2 separate regions of the Homo sapiens genome follow, and region 2 is linked to region 1. The links are contacts of gene promoters, found by promoter capture Hi-C in human tissues and cell types (Jung and others, 2019). All regions are on one chromosome and are shown on one strand. The core of a region is centred on a gene start or on the middle of the fragment in contact, and the rest is flanking DNA. Distances in the headings are between cores, read along the strand shown.

What was found. Contacts are between HindIII fragments. The study calls those that stand out against the background at their distance.
Region 2: a contact is called between the fragment with the promoter of PTPN9 here and the fragment with the promoter of RPP25 in region 1, in 1 of the 25 tissues and cell types used here (psoas muscle).

The regions. Positions count from the first base shown.
Region 1 is chr15:74,952,902-74,958,983 of GRCh38, reverse strand. RPP25 (ribonuclease P/MRP subunit p25) reads left to right here and starts at 2,212. Exons shown (of 1, transcript NM_017793.3): 1 at 2,212-4,566. The coding sequence starts at 2,401. The coding sequence ends at 3,000. RefSeq lists enhancers at 44-600, 1,595-2,528, 2,529-3,462, 3,463-4,396 and a silencer at 1,920-2,569. The HindIII fragment of the contact is 8,066 bases long and covers 1-4,610 here.
Region 2 is chr15:75,576,743-75,582,824 of GRCh38, reverse strand. It overlaps PTPN9 (protein tyrosine phosphatase non-receptor type 9), which reads left to right and starts at 3,510. Exons shown (of 13, transcript NM_002833.4): 1 at 3,510-4,111. The coding sequence starts at 4,049. RefSeq lists silencers at 3,153-3,642, 3,903-4,302 and an enhancer at 3,345-3,943. The HindIII fragment of the contact is 16,601 bases long and covers 1-6,062 here.

The sequences.
Region 1 (6,082 bases), core at 963-3,462:
TAACTTCCAGCCTTTCGGGGGCTTTTTCTCAGGGCCTGACCTTACACAGCCCTCGGTTCTCCACGCCCCGCTACGCGCTGCGGACAGTCTTTGTTTCTTCCCAAGGCTGCTGTGCCTCCAGCCCCCACCGCTGTGTGGGGCCCATGGAGACTGGACCGAGACCGAAGTCCCGGTTCGGAGCATACCCCGAGGGTTCCTGATCCCACCAGGAGACGGGGAGGGGGTCAGCCATTCACACATTGCGGTGCCAAGGTCCAGTCGCCGCAGCCACTCCCAGGAAGTGGTAAGAGGGTAAATCCCGGTTCTGAACAGCAGGGACCGAGGGCCGCTCCCAAGAAGTGACAAGGAAGTAAACCCTGGTTTTGAACAGCAGGGACTGAGAGCTGCTGCAGATGCCCAGAGGGCGAGAACAGCGGGAGGAGGGAGAACAGCATCTGGCAGCCCCATCTCCAACTGAGGCCCAGCAATCCAAGGCACTGTCATGCCCCCAGCACTTTCCCGGTGGCCCGCCCGCCCCAGCTCTCTGTGTCCCTCCCCGCCACGCCCCGTCACAGTCCCCTGGCTAGGACCAGATCTGCCGCCCTCTCTCAGTCCTGACTGCGTAGGGCGGGTGGAAGGAGGACGGGGGAATCCCGAGAGCAGTTTTAGGGAGGGTCGGGCCCCTTCTCAGACCCCCTCCCTTCCATCAGTAGTCCTGACAGCCCCCAATCTCATCTTTCTCTAATGCTTCTCTCACCCGGCAGGAGACCCCGGGCCTCTCTTTCGGTCCCGTGGAGTTTCCGCCGGAGAGGCATCCAGTAGTTCCATAATGCCCCCAGGGCTTCAACTCCCCATCTTCCTCCCTTCTTTCTCTCTTTTATTTTTTTTTAAGTCTTTTTAATTTTTGTGGGTATACAATAGGTGTCTATATTTAGAGGGTACATGAGACGTTTTGATACAGGCATGCAATGCATAATAATCACATCCTGGAGAATGGGGTATCCCTCCCTTCTCTTTTGTATTTTATTTAATTAATTAATTTATTCATTTTTCGAGACAGAGCTTTGCTCTGTCGCCCCGGCTGGAGTGCAGTGGCATGATCTCGGCTCACTGCAGCCTTCAGCTCCCGGGTTCAAGCGCTTGTCCTGCCTCAGCCTCCCGAGCAGCTAGGATTACAGGAGCGTGCCACAACGCCGAGCTGATTTTTGTACGTTTAATGGAGACGGGGTTTCACCATGTTGACCAGGCTGGTCTCGAACTCCTGACGTCAAGTAATCCGCCCACCTCTGCCTCCCAAAGTGCTGGGATTAAAAGCGTGAGACACCGCGCCCGGCCCCTCCCTTCTCTTTTTTAAAACCTGCGTTCACCTAGCCTCCTTTCGAAAAGGACCCCACTGGATCTCAAGGGGCCAATGTTGCCTGAGCGAATTCCGCCTGGGAGGAAGGGGGCGGCCACGTTGGCAAGGCATCGTGCCTGGCTCACCCTAAAGCGCGCAGCTCTAAGGGTGGGCTCTAGGGCCTGGGTGGAGCGAGCCTACCGCCTTTTCAGAAGAGGTCACGCCCGCTTCCCCACGCGCCTCGGGGAACAGCCTGGCCCAAAGCCTCACTCCTCACGTCCCAGGGGTGGACGGGGGTCCGGGAGCCTCGAGCTCCGGGCAGGCGTGGCGAGGCTGAAGTCTGGGTCTTCCGCGCCCCGCGAGGACCACGCCGCGACGTAATCGCCCGCGGGGAGGCGCGGAGTGGAGCCGCAGCCAGCTCCTCCCGCACTCTGCTGACCGCGCACTAGCTGTCCTTGAGGCAAGAATACTTGGGAGCGGAAAAAAGGTGGGGGTGTTCCCCGGGGCGGGGGAGGAGGGGCAAGGCCCCAGCAAGCCTCTTGGAAATCTCTCCCTGGGAGGGGACGAGGGGCGGCCTTCAGTTGCAAATGGGAAGGGCTCGGATACCGGATTTGAAGCAGTGTTTGCACGGCAAGCGCAGCTTTTATTTAGACTGCCGGTTTGTGAGGGTTGGCTCTCAGAGCGCTGATGGCGATTATAGTGGAACTTCACCTTCACCTGCTCATGCGCCCCGCAGCGCGCCCGCTCCCACGCCCGCGTAGCTGAGGACCCAGACTCGCCAGGAAAGGCTAGTGAGGCTGGGGCCCGGGCGGGCCCGGCCGGGCCGGGTCAGGGGAGGGGCCTGGCGGCAGGGGCGGGGCCTCAGCTAAAGGCGCGGAGCACCCGGCGCCGAGAGCGCTGAGTAGAGCGGCGCCCGCTCGAGAGAAGTGGGGCCGAGATCGCGCCGTCCCAGCCCGCCCGCCGGCGTCTGCGCTGCTCCGGCGCCCTTACCCCTGCTGGCCCTTGCAAGGCGCGACCGGCGGCCATGCAGCCCCGGGGCTGAGGCCGCCCCATGGCAAAGCCGGCGGTCCCGGCGACGACGGCGCATGGAGAACTTCCGTAAGGTGCGCTCCGAAGAGGCGCCAGCGGGGTGCGGGGCCGAGGGAGGCGGCCCGGGCTCCGGCCCCTTCGCAGACCTGGCGCCGGGCGCGGTGCACATGCGGGTCAAGGAAGGCAGCAAGATCCGGAACCTGATGGCCTTCGCCACCGCCAGCATGGCGCAGCCAGCCACGCGCGCCATCGTCTTCAGCGGCTGCGGCCGGGCCACCACCAAAACCGTCACGTGCGCCGAGATCCTCAAGCGCCGCCTGGCGGGCCTGCACCAGGTCACGCGGCTGCGCTACCGGAGCGTACGCGAGGTGTGGCAGAGCCTCCCGCCTGGGCCCACGCAGGGTCAGACGCCTGGCGAGCCGGCCGCTAGTCTCAGCGTACTTAAGAACGTGCCCGGCCTCGCCATCCTACTTTCCAAGGACGCGCTGGATCCGCGACAGCCCGGCTACCAGCCCCCGAATCCCCATCCTGGTCCCTCGTCCCCGCCAGCCGCGCCAGCGTCCAAGAGGAGCCTAGGGGAACCCGCAGCTGGAGAAGGCTCCGCGAAGCGATCGCAACCCGAGCCAGGGGTTGCGGACGAGGATCAGACGGCCTGAAACTCCGGACTGTGGGCCACCTAGTCCGGCAGGATCTTCCGCCAGCGCCTCCACCTTCAGATGTACCTCCAGCCTTTCACTCCTCGGTCCTCCGGAGCCCACAACCTGGACACAGCTCCTCAAGACAGGTAGCATGGACCTTAAGGCGACAAGAGAGGGGCCCCAGGAGTGGCAGGAGAGGATCCCCGACCACCCTAGGGAAACTTCGTGCGATAATTGCTGCTTATGCCCGTGTTGCGTGAAGACACGGAACTTCACCTTTTCTGGGACCTTCTTTGGGGGAGAATGGTGGACAGTGGGATTCTGGAAACTTGTTTGGGACCCCCAAGGGTTAAAGCCACCCAGCATTCACGAAGAGCACCTGAAGTATGGAAGCTGAGAAGAGTTATTGGAATCACCCCCACCGTTGACAGAGGAAGGCAGGGGGTGAGAATTAACTGCTTGAGGGTAGGAGAGTCTGAGATGTGGGGGCCCTATTCCGCTCCCCGCCCTGGGACAGTTTTCCTTTCTAGTTTTCTTTCCCCTGCTTCAGAGGAGCATCTCTGAGGGTTCTAGCTCTTTTAACACCCCTTTTCCCCCTGCTGGCCCAGAGGGAGACCCAGGACTGAACTCTCCAGGCCTCCTCCCCTGAGCCCTGCAGCTGGCTGGAGTCTTGCTTCCAATAAAACAAGCACAAAAATGGCTGTGTCCCCCATTTTTTTTCTAACCACCCGCCTGTGCAGAGACAGCTCTCGCCTGGCCCCTTGTGTCTCCCCTCCCCTCCAGCCTTGCGTCCTGAGTCTTTGGAGTCTTCAGGGTCAGGCACAGAGACTGAACAGCTTCAAAATGGTGCAAGGCACTGCCCAGTCCCTGGCTTCTTCCTCTCTCCTCCCCCACTCCGCCCTCCCGGGCTGGCCCTGGCCTCAGAGGCTGTTGCAAATGGGGGCCCGTGTACCCCTGTACATCGCCACTAAGGGAAAGGGAGCGGCACATTGTTTTTCTGGGAGGGGAAGGAAGGAGTGGAAGGACAGCATCGATGAACTCTCCTGGAGGTCACTGCAAAGGGTGGCAGACCCTGCTGAGGTCCCTGAATCTGCAGCCTCCAGACAATAAACTGAACCTTACCCAGAAGGCTGGCACAAAGCCCCCAGCTCTGTGGGTAGGATCTCCCCTTCACTGCCCTCTCTCTGAGAAAGGACAGCACACCCTTGGGAAAGGGGGAGGAGAGAGACTGAGCACAAATCCACTGCTGGAAATTACTATTCAGCAGAGAAGCTGGGTCTTGGGCTGTGAATCACTGCAGGCCTCCTGATAAGCTGCTGCCTCCAGCCCTGCACAGCTGTCTGTTGAGAGATAACAGCCTCATAAGCTTCTCTGCCCAACTCCAAGCCAGCTGGGGGGTGGGGGTGCTGCTGTGTGCTGGAAGAGCTCTGGTGAGTTGGGGGTGGCATACAGCCCCAGGATCTCAGAAGCAGATCTCATCCCATGCAACTCAGCAGCACCCCTGGAAAGGGGGAGATGCGGAAGAATGTATTTATAAGTCATTTTGCTGGCAGAACCCTGAAATAAATCCTGCTGGTGACAAGAGATACGTTCTGTGGCTGACTGGAGGGGCTCTTAGGGAGGTTTCCCTCCCCTGCAGTATCTCTGCTTGAGCTTTGGAGTGAGCTTTGTCATCCAGACTTTGTCCCTCGTTGCTCTCCCCAAATTCCTGCTCTTGATGAGTCCCTGGAGAGGGCCAAGGGGTTTGGGTTTGCTTGTCTGACCCTCTCAGGGGTGGCCCAAGAAGCATGGAAAGAATGTAAACTGTCCTGACAAGATGGCCTAGCTTCTCCTGGACTTCAGCATCTAAAGGCAGTGATAAAACTTGGACAAGGTCCTGCATGGTAGAAGCTTAAGGGAGACTGGTCTTGGTTCTGAAAAGGGTCCAACTTTCCAAGACAACAAGTGACTGATAGCCGGGTTACCAGGACTATGAAAGCAGGGCCTGAGGCCGGGCATGGTGGTTCATGCCTGTAATCCTGTAATCCCAGCACTTTGGGGGGCCAAGGCGGGCAAATCACGAGGTCAGGAGCTTGAGACCAGCCTGGCCAACATGGTGAAACCCCGTCTCCACTAAAAATACAAAAATTAGTCAGGCATGGTGGCGGGCGCCTGTAATCCCAGCTACTCAGGAGGCTGAGGCAGGAGAATCGCTTGAACCTGGGAGGCGGAGGTTGCAGTGAGCCGAGATTGCATCACTGCACTCCAGCCTGGGCGACAGTGTGAGACTCCGTCTCGAAAAAAAAAAAAAGAAAGCAGGGTCTGCTAGTCTTGTCACGGAGATAAGGCTGCAATGGATTTTTTTTTATTATTTTTTTTGAAACGGAGTATCTCTCTGTCGCCCGGGCTGGAGTGCTGTGGTGCGATCTCGGCTCACTGCAACCTCTGCCTCCTGGGTTCAAGCGATTCTCCTGCCTCAGCCTCCTGAGTAGCTGGGATTACAGGCGTGTATCCCCACACTCGGCTAGTTTTTGTATTTTTAGTAGAGAAGGGGTCTCACCATGTTGGCCAGGCTGGTCTCAAACACCTGATCTCAGGTGATCCACCCGCCTCGGCCTCCCACAGTGCTGGGATTACAGGCATGAGCCACCACACCCGGCCTCTCTTTTTTATTTTTTTTATTTTAATTATTATTATTATTATTTTGAGAAGGAGTCTTGCTCTGTCACTAGGCTGGAGTGCAGTGGTGCAATCTCAGCTCACTGCAACCTCCACCTCCTGGGTTTAAGCGATTCTTCTGCCTCAGCCTCCCAAGTAGCTGGGATTACAGGCATGTGCCACCACGCCCAGCTAATTTTTGTATTTTTAGTAGAGACGGCATTTCACCATGTTGGCCAGGATGGTCTCAATCTCTTGACCTTGTGATCCACCTGCCTTGGCTTCCCAAAGTGCTGGGATTAGAGGTGTGAGCCACCACGATTTTATATATATATATATTTTTTCGCCCGGCTGTAGTGCAATGGCACAATCTCAGCTCACCGCAACCTCTGCCTCCCAGGTTCAAGTGATTCTCCTGCCTCAGCCTCCGGAGTAGCTGGGATTATAGGTGTGCACTACCACG
Region 2 (6,082 bases), core at 2,261-4,760, 620 kb before region 1:
GAGGCTGAGGCAGGAGAATTGCTTGAACCCAGGAGGTGGAGGTCACAGTGAGCCGAGATCACGCCATTGCACTCCAGCCTGGGAAACAGAGCAAGACCTCCACTCAAAAAAAAAAAAAAAAAAAAAAAAAAAAAAAAGTATTCCAGACTGGTTACAATACTGAAACTAAAGGAGTGATGAAGTCAACCTCCAGTCAGCTGTATTGATGCAAAGGAGAAAATATCCTAGCTGAGATAAAGATTCAAATACCAAGGATATCGTCTCTGATTCTTACCAAGGGCAGCCTGAAGTTCCTATTGCATTAATGCAGAAATTAGTTGAGGTCAGGGATTGTTTTTAAAATCCTAGAAGGAGCCGGGCATGGTGGCTCATGCCTGTAATGCCAACACTTTGGCAGGCTGAGGCGGGTGGATTGCCTGAGGTCAGGAGTTTGAGACCAGCCTGGCCAACACAGTGAAACCCCATCTCTACTAAAAATACGAAAAATTAGCTAGGCATGGTGGCAGACACCTGTAATCCCAGCTACTAGGGAGGCTGAGGCAGGAGAATTGCTTGAACCTGGGAAGTGGAGGTTGCAGTGAGCTGAGATCGTGCCATTGCACTCCAGCCTGGGCAACAAGAGCGAAACTCCATCTCAAACAAAAACAAAAATCCTAGAAGGCTGGGCACGGTGGCTCACACCTGTAATCCCAGCACTTTGGGAGGCTGAGGCAGGAAGATCGCCTGAGCCCAGTGTAACTGCCCAATGGGATCACCTTGCCTGCTGCTTACACAGCGGATATATCAAGACAGGGGAATTGCAATGGCAAAAGAGTAATTCACACAGAGCCGTCTGTGCAGGAGAGTGGAGTTTTATTATTATTATTATTATTATTATTTTGATTCAGCGTCTCGCTGTTTCGCCAGGCTGGAGTGCAGTGATGCGATCTTGGCTCACTGCAACCTCCACCTCCCGGGTTCAAGCGCTTCTCCTGCCTCAGACTCCCGAGTAGCTGGGACGACAGGTACGCGCCACCATGCCCAGCTAATTTTTGTATTTTTACTAGAGACGGGGTTTCACCATGTTGGCCAGGATGGTCTCGATCTCTTAACCTCATGATCCGCCTGCCTCAGCCTCCCAAAGTGCTGGGATTACAGGCGTGAGTCACCATGCCCGGCCTGGAGCTTTATTATTACTGAAATCAGTCTCCCTGGAGCATTAAGGGATCAGAGTTTTTAAAGATAATTTGGTGGGTAGGGGCTTAGGAAGTGGAGAGTGCTGATTGGTCAGGTTTGAGATTGGATCATAGGGAGTTGAAATGAGTTTTTCTTGCTGTCTTCTGTTCCTGGTTGGGATGGCAGACCTATTTGGGCCAGATTACCAGTCTGGATGGTATCAGCTGATGCACTGGGTGCAGGGTCTGCAAAATATCTCAAGCACTGATCTTAGGTTTTACAATAGTGATGTTATCCCCAGGAGCAGTTTGGGGAGGTTTAGACTCTTGGAGCCCATGGCTGCATGACCCCTAAATTGTAATTTCTAATCTTGTAGCTTAATCTGTTAGTCCTGCAAAGGCAGACTGGACCCCAGGGAAGAAGGGGGTCTTTTCGGGAAAGGGCTATTATCAATTTTGTTTCAGAGTCAAACCATGAACTGAATTCCTTCCCAAAGTTAGTTCGGCCTATGCCCAGGAATGAACAAGGACAGCTTAAGGGTTAGAAACAAGATAGAGTCAGTTAGGTCTGATTTCTTTCACTGTCATAAAATCATCAGTTATAATTTTGCAAAGGCAGTTTACCAGGAGTTTGAGACCAGCCTGGGCAACATAGTAAGACCCCTATCTCTACCAAAAAAAAAAAAAAAAAAATTAGCCAGGTGCAGTGGTGTGCACCTGTAGTCCCACCTACTCAGGAGGCTGAGGCGGGAGGATTGCTTGAGCCCAGGACTTTGAAGCTGCAGTGAGCTGTGATCACGCCACTGCACTCCAGCCTGGGCAACAAAGTGAGACCCTGTGTTAAAACAACAACAACAACAACAACAACTTTGGGAGGCCGAGGTGGGCGGATCACGAGGTCAGGAGATTGAGACCATCCTGGCTAACATGGTGAAAGCCCGTCTCTACTAAAAATACAAAAAAATAAAAAAAATAAAAATAAAAATTAGCCGGGCGCGGTGGCGGGTGCCTGTAGTCCCAGCTACTTGGGAGCCTGAGGCAGGAGAATGGCGTGAACCTGGGAGGGGGAGCTTGCAGTGAGCCGAGATCGCGCCACTGCACTCCAGCCTGGGTGACAGAGTGAGACTCCGTCTCAAAAAAAGAAAAACAAAAAAGCCAGGCGCGCGGTGGCTCACGCCTGCCTGTAATCCCAGCACTTTGGAAGACCGAGGCGGGCGGATCACAAGGTCAGGAGTTCGAGACCAGCCTGACCAACATGGTGAAACCCCGTCTCTACTAAAAATACAAAAATTAGCCGGGCGTGGTGGCTCGCACCTGTAATCCCAGCTACCCAGGAGGCTGAGGCAGGAGAATCGCTTGACCCCGGGAGGTGGAGGTTGCAGTGAGCCGAGATCGCGCCACTGCACTCCAGCCTGGGCGACACAGAGACTCCGTCTCAAAAAAAAAAATAAAAAAAAAATCATAGGAGCATCACAACTCACAGCACCTTCCTGTTGTCTGAAGGCCCCTCCTTTGGGTCCCTCAGGACTGGCTCCAGGGCTTCAGCCTTGGAACTAGTTGTGGACTTTGGGTCCCTTTGGAATATTTATCTTTGGCTTGGAATAATGCAACAACGTACCAGACCCAGCCTTGCCTTCTCTATGCCCCATTCCTCCCCAAATGACTCCAAGACTGTACCCCTAATCCTGAACCCTTTGCTGCACTTGCCCTAGTGAAAATCAAAGGTCTGCAAAGGCCGCGTCATTCCTGAATGATGTTCGGAGTCTGATGTCGTTTCTATGGGGGATTAAAATTAGCGACACTGGAGATGAATTACAGGGTGCAGCCAGTAAGGAGGGAGAGAGAGGGAGGCAGGTGCGATTCCTTCCACCTAAGCATCCTGGCCTGGCAGGCAACCTTTCCAGGGTCTTTCAGGCTGCAAGCGACAAATAGTTGAGGATTGTGGGTTTCTCACGCGTAGGTGGCAGCGGCAAGTTAACCCCAGGAGAGGTGCCAGTCAGCAGATAATTTGCAAACGAACGTATTCTCCTCCTCCTCCGAGGATCTGAGCCTCACGAAATACTCTTTTCTTCCTTTTTCTCCCTCCCGCAGTCGAGTTGCCTTCCGTCCAGCTAGGGTCCCCTCCCCGCCCGGGTCCCCTCCCCCTCCCGGTCCCCTCCCCCGCCCGGGCTCCTCTCTGTCTCCCCCTCCCGGACTGCGTCCTCGCTCCGCCGGGCCCTCCTCGCCGCCAGCTTGTGAATGAGACGCTCAGTTTCTCAATGGAGCCGCGGGGGGCTCGGGCGGCCGCGGGGCGGCCGCAGCGTTGGCCGTGAGTCAGGAGGGGGGCGCGTTTCCCTCGCTCCCTCTCCACTCCCTCCCTTTCGCTGCGGCCGCCCGCGAGGAGCCTGGCTGAGGCAGCCGCGCAGGTCGCAGGGCCAGCGTCCGCGAGGACGGCCCGGCTGGGCGGCCCCGAGCTCTGTGGCGCTGTGGAGGAGCGGGAGCGCGGCCGAGGAAGCGGGGCGCCGAGGGGGTCGGCGGCCTTCGGGAAATTTCCGCCGACCCTTCGCTCCCGGCTCTAAAAGTTCCTGATTTCCTATTTCCTTTTAAATCCCGAGTGGCTGTTAGCTCTTCGCCTGCACTTTTTCTTCCCCAGGAGATAAGGGGGAGTGTGAGGAACGGAGCGAATAATATAAAAAAGGATTTCCTCCCGGAAGAGAGCGGCAGTTCGGAGAGATTTTTCTTAAGGAAGCAGAAGCGGCGTTTGCGGCCGCTGCAGGCGCCGGGCCCTGCCGGCCACACTATGCGCGAGCCGGCCCCGGGCTGCTGAGGCGCGGGGACGCGGAAGCGGAGGCCGAGCGCGCCGGGCTCCCGCGCTCGCGAGCGAGTTTTGTCCGCCCGGCGGCGGTGGCGGGGGGATGGAGCCCGCGACCGCGCCCCGGCCCGACATGGCGCCGGAGCTGACCCCGGAGGAGGAGCAGGTAAGCGGGCCCGAGGCCGCCGCGTTGGGTGTGTCCGGGCCCCCGAGGCCTACGCCGGCCTCTGCCTCCCGAGTGCCGGCTCTTTGCAGCCACGGGGCCGCAGCCCCCCGCTCCCGTGCCCGGCTCGCGGGCCTCCCTCACCGGCGACCGCGCCCCAGGCCGCCACCCCCTCGTCGGGGGACCCACGGGACCCTACTCCCGTTCCCGCCGCTTCTTTCGCCGAGGCTTACCAGCCTCAGACGGTGCCCTCCGCACCCCACCCCCTATTCCAGGGGCAAAGTTCCTTGGATCCAGGGGCCTTCTTCCCGAGATTTGCAGAACCGCTGCTTGCCCCCGGCCCTTCCACTCCCTTGTAAATGTTTTCCGTGAGGGTTTGTGGCTTTTGAAGGGCAGGAAAAGCCCCAGTTTGGGGGGTGCTTCCTGTGGGGATTATCTCCCTTCCCGAGGAGAGGGCTGAGAGTATTGGATGCATAGATGCCCTAGATTTTCAGAGGAGCCTCTTAGGTTTCTCAGGCCCACTTGGGCAGGTTATGGAAGATCCAGCCCTTCTCGTGTTCCTAAAGTCCCTGGCCTTGACCCCCCTATTCAGCTATCCCAGACGGGGCGCATCTCCTCACCCGCGCTTCCCTACCCTCGTCTCATCTGACTGTCTCCATCTTTCTGAAGCTTACATTGAGCTCTATTGTTCCTTAAAAGCCTATGACCTTTAGTTTTCAGAAGGAAGTGGTTTGCTGTCTCATTTTGGGGGCCCTTGTAACTTTCCCTCCCGCACATTCCAGCTGCGGAGACAGGGACCACTCCTGAGGAAGATGGGAAGGTCTGCTAGCTTAGACTGGGAACCCTACGGGCTTTTCGCTGTCTCTTCCTTGGCACTGCCCATACCCCGCCATAGCTATGCTCGATTATAGTCATAGTCTGATTCCATGTTATAAATAAAAAAAATAAAAATAAACATGAAAAAAGAAAAAGGCAAACCATGCTGGCAACCCATTTCAAGCTCTACAGCTCTTGTTTCCAAGGACCACATTTGCTAGCACAGCCTCTAGTGTGAAGACAGTCCAGTTTTACAAACTATTATTGGCTAATGGGCTTGTTGACCTGATTTTTTAAAGTCCTTGTCTTTTCTCCTTATTTGTGGAGATGACATTTTTCTATTTGGCCTCAGGCCACGGTTTTGTCTTTTGACACCTGGTGATGAAATCTGTATGGGAAAAAAATTTAAAAAGAATTCTGCTTTGTACAAGCAGTGGTAATGAATGTCCTGGTAACTGCAGTTGGATGTTAATAAAATGCTAGTCAGACCCTAGTGCAAGCAGGTGGCCAAGGAGCCCATTCTGCCAGAATTGGGAAGTACTTCAGTACTAAGATAGGATGTGTTGGCTGATTTTAAAGGGACAAAATCTCTTTCTTTCATCCTTTTCCTTGGGTCAGTCAGATTTCTGTTTTTAAGACTTAAAGCCATCAGTATTCTATGCAAATAGCATCCGTTGCAAATTTGAAAACTAAAACCAGGAAAAGTAAATATTAAAGTATTGATAGTATTGACATGGTATTGGCTTTACTTTGTACATAGTGCATACACATATATACAGATGTGTTTAACTAGTAAAAACCTTATCTTTTACCCTGAATTGAATGTGATGGGCATTAACAAGGACTAGGATGGAAACGGCAAAATGTTTATTAAAGTCAAGAGATTGTGTGTGTGTGTGTTTTTAAAATCTTATCTCTTTTTTCTACAAAATATTATTTTTTTACAAGCATTTCAAAATATTGAAACAAAAGCAGTATAGTTCTAATTATGGTAATGCCTAATGTTACCATATTTTAGTTTAATATCACATAAGAGTACTCTCTTTTTTTTTGAGATGGAGTTTTGATTTTTTGTTTGTTTGTTTGTTTTTTTGAGACAGAGCCTCGCCCTGTCATCTAGGCTGGAGTGCAGTGGCCTGATCTTGGCTCACTGCAACC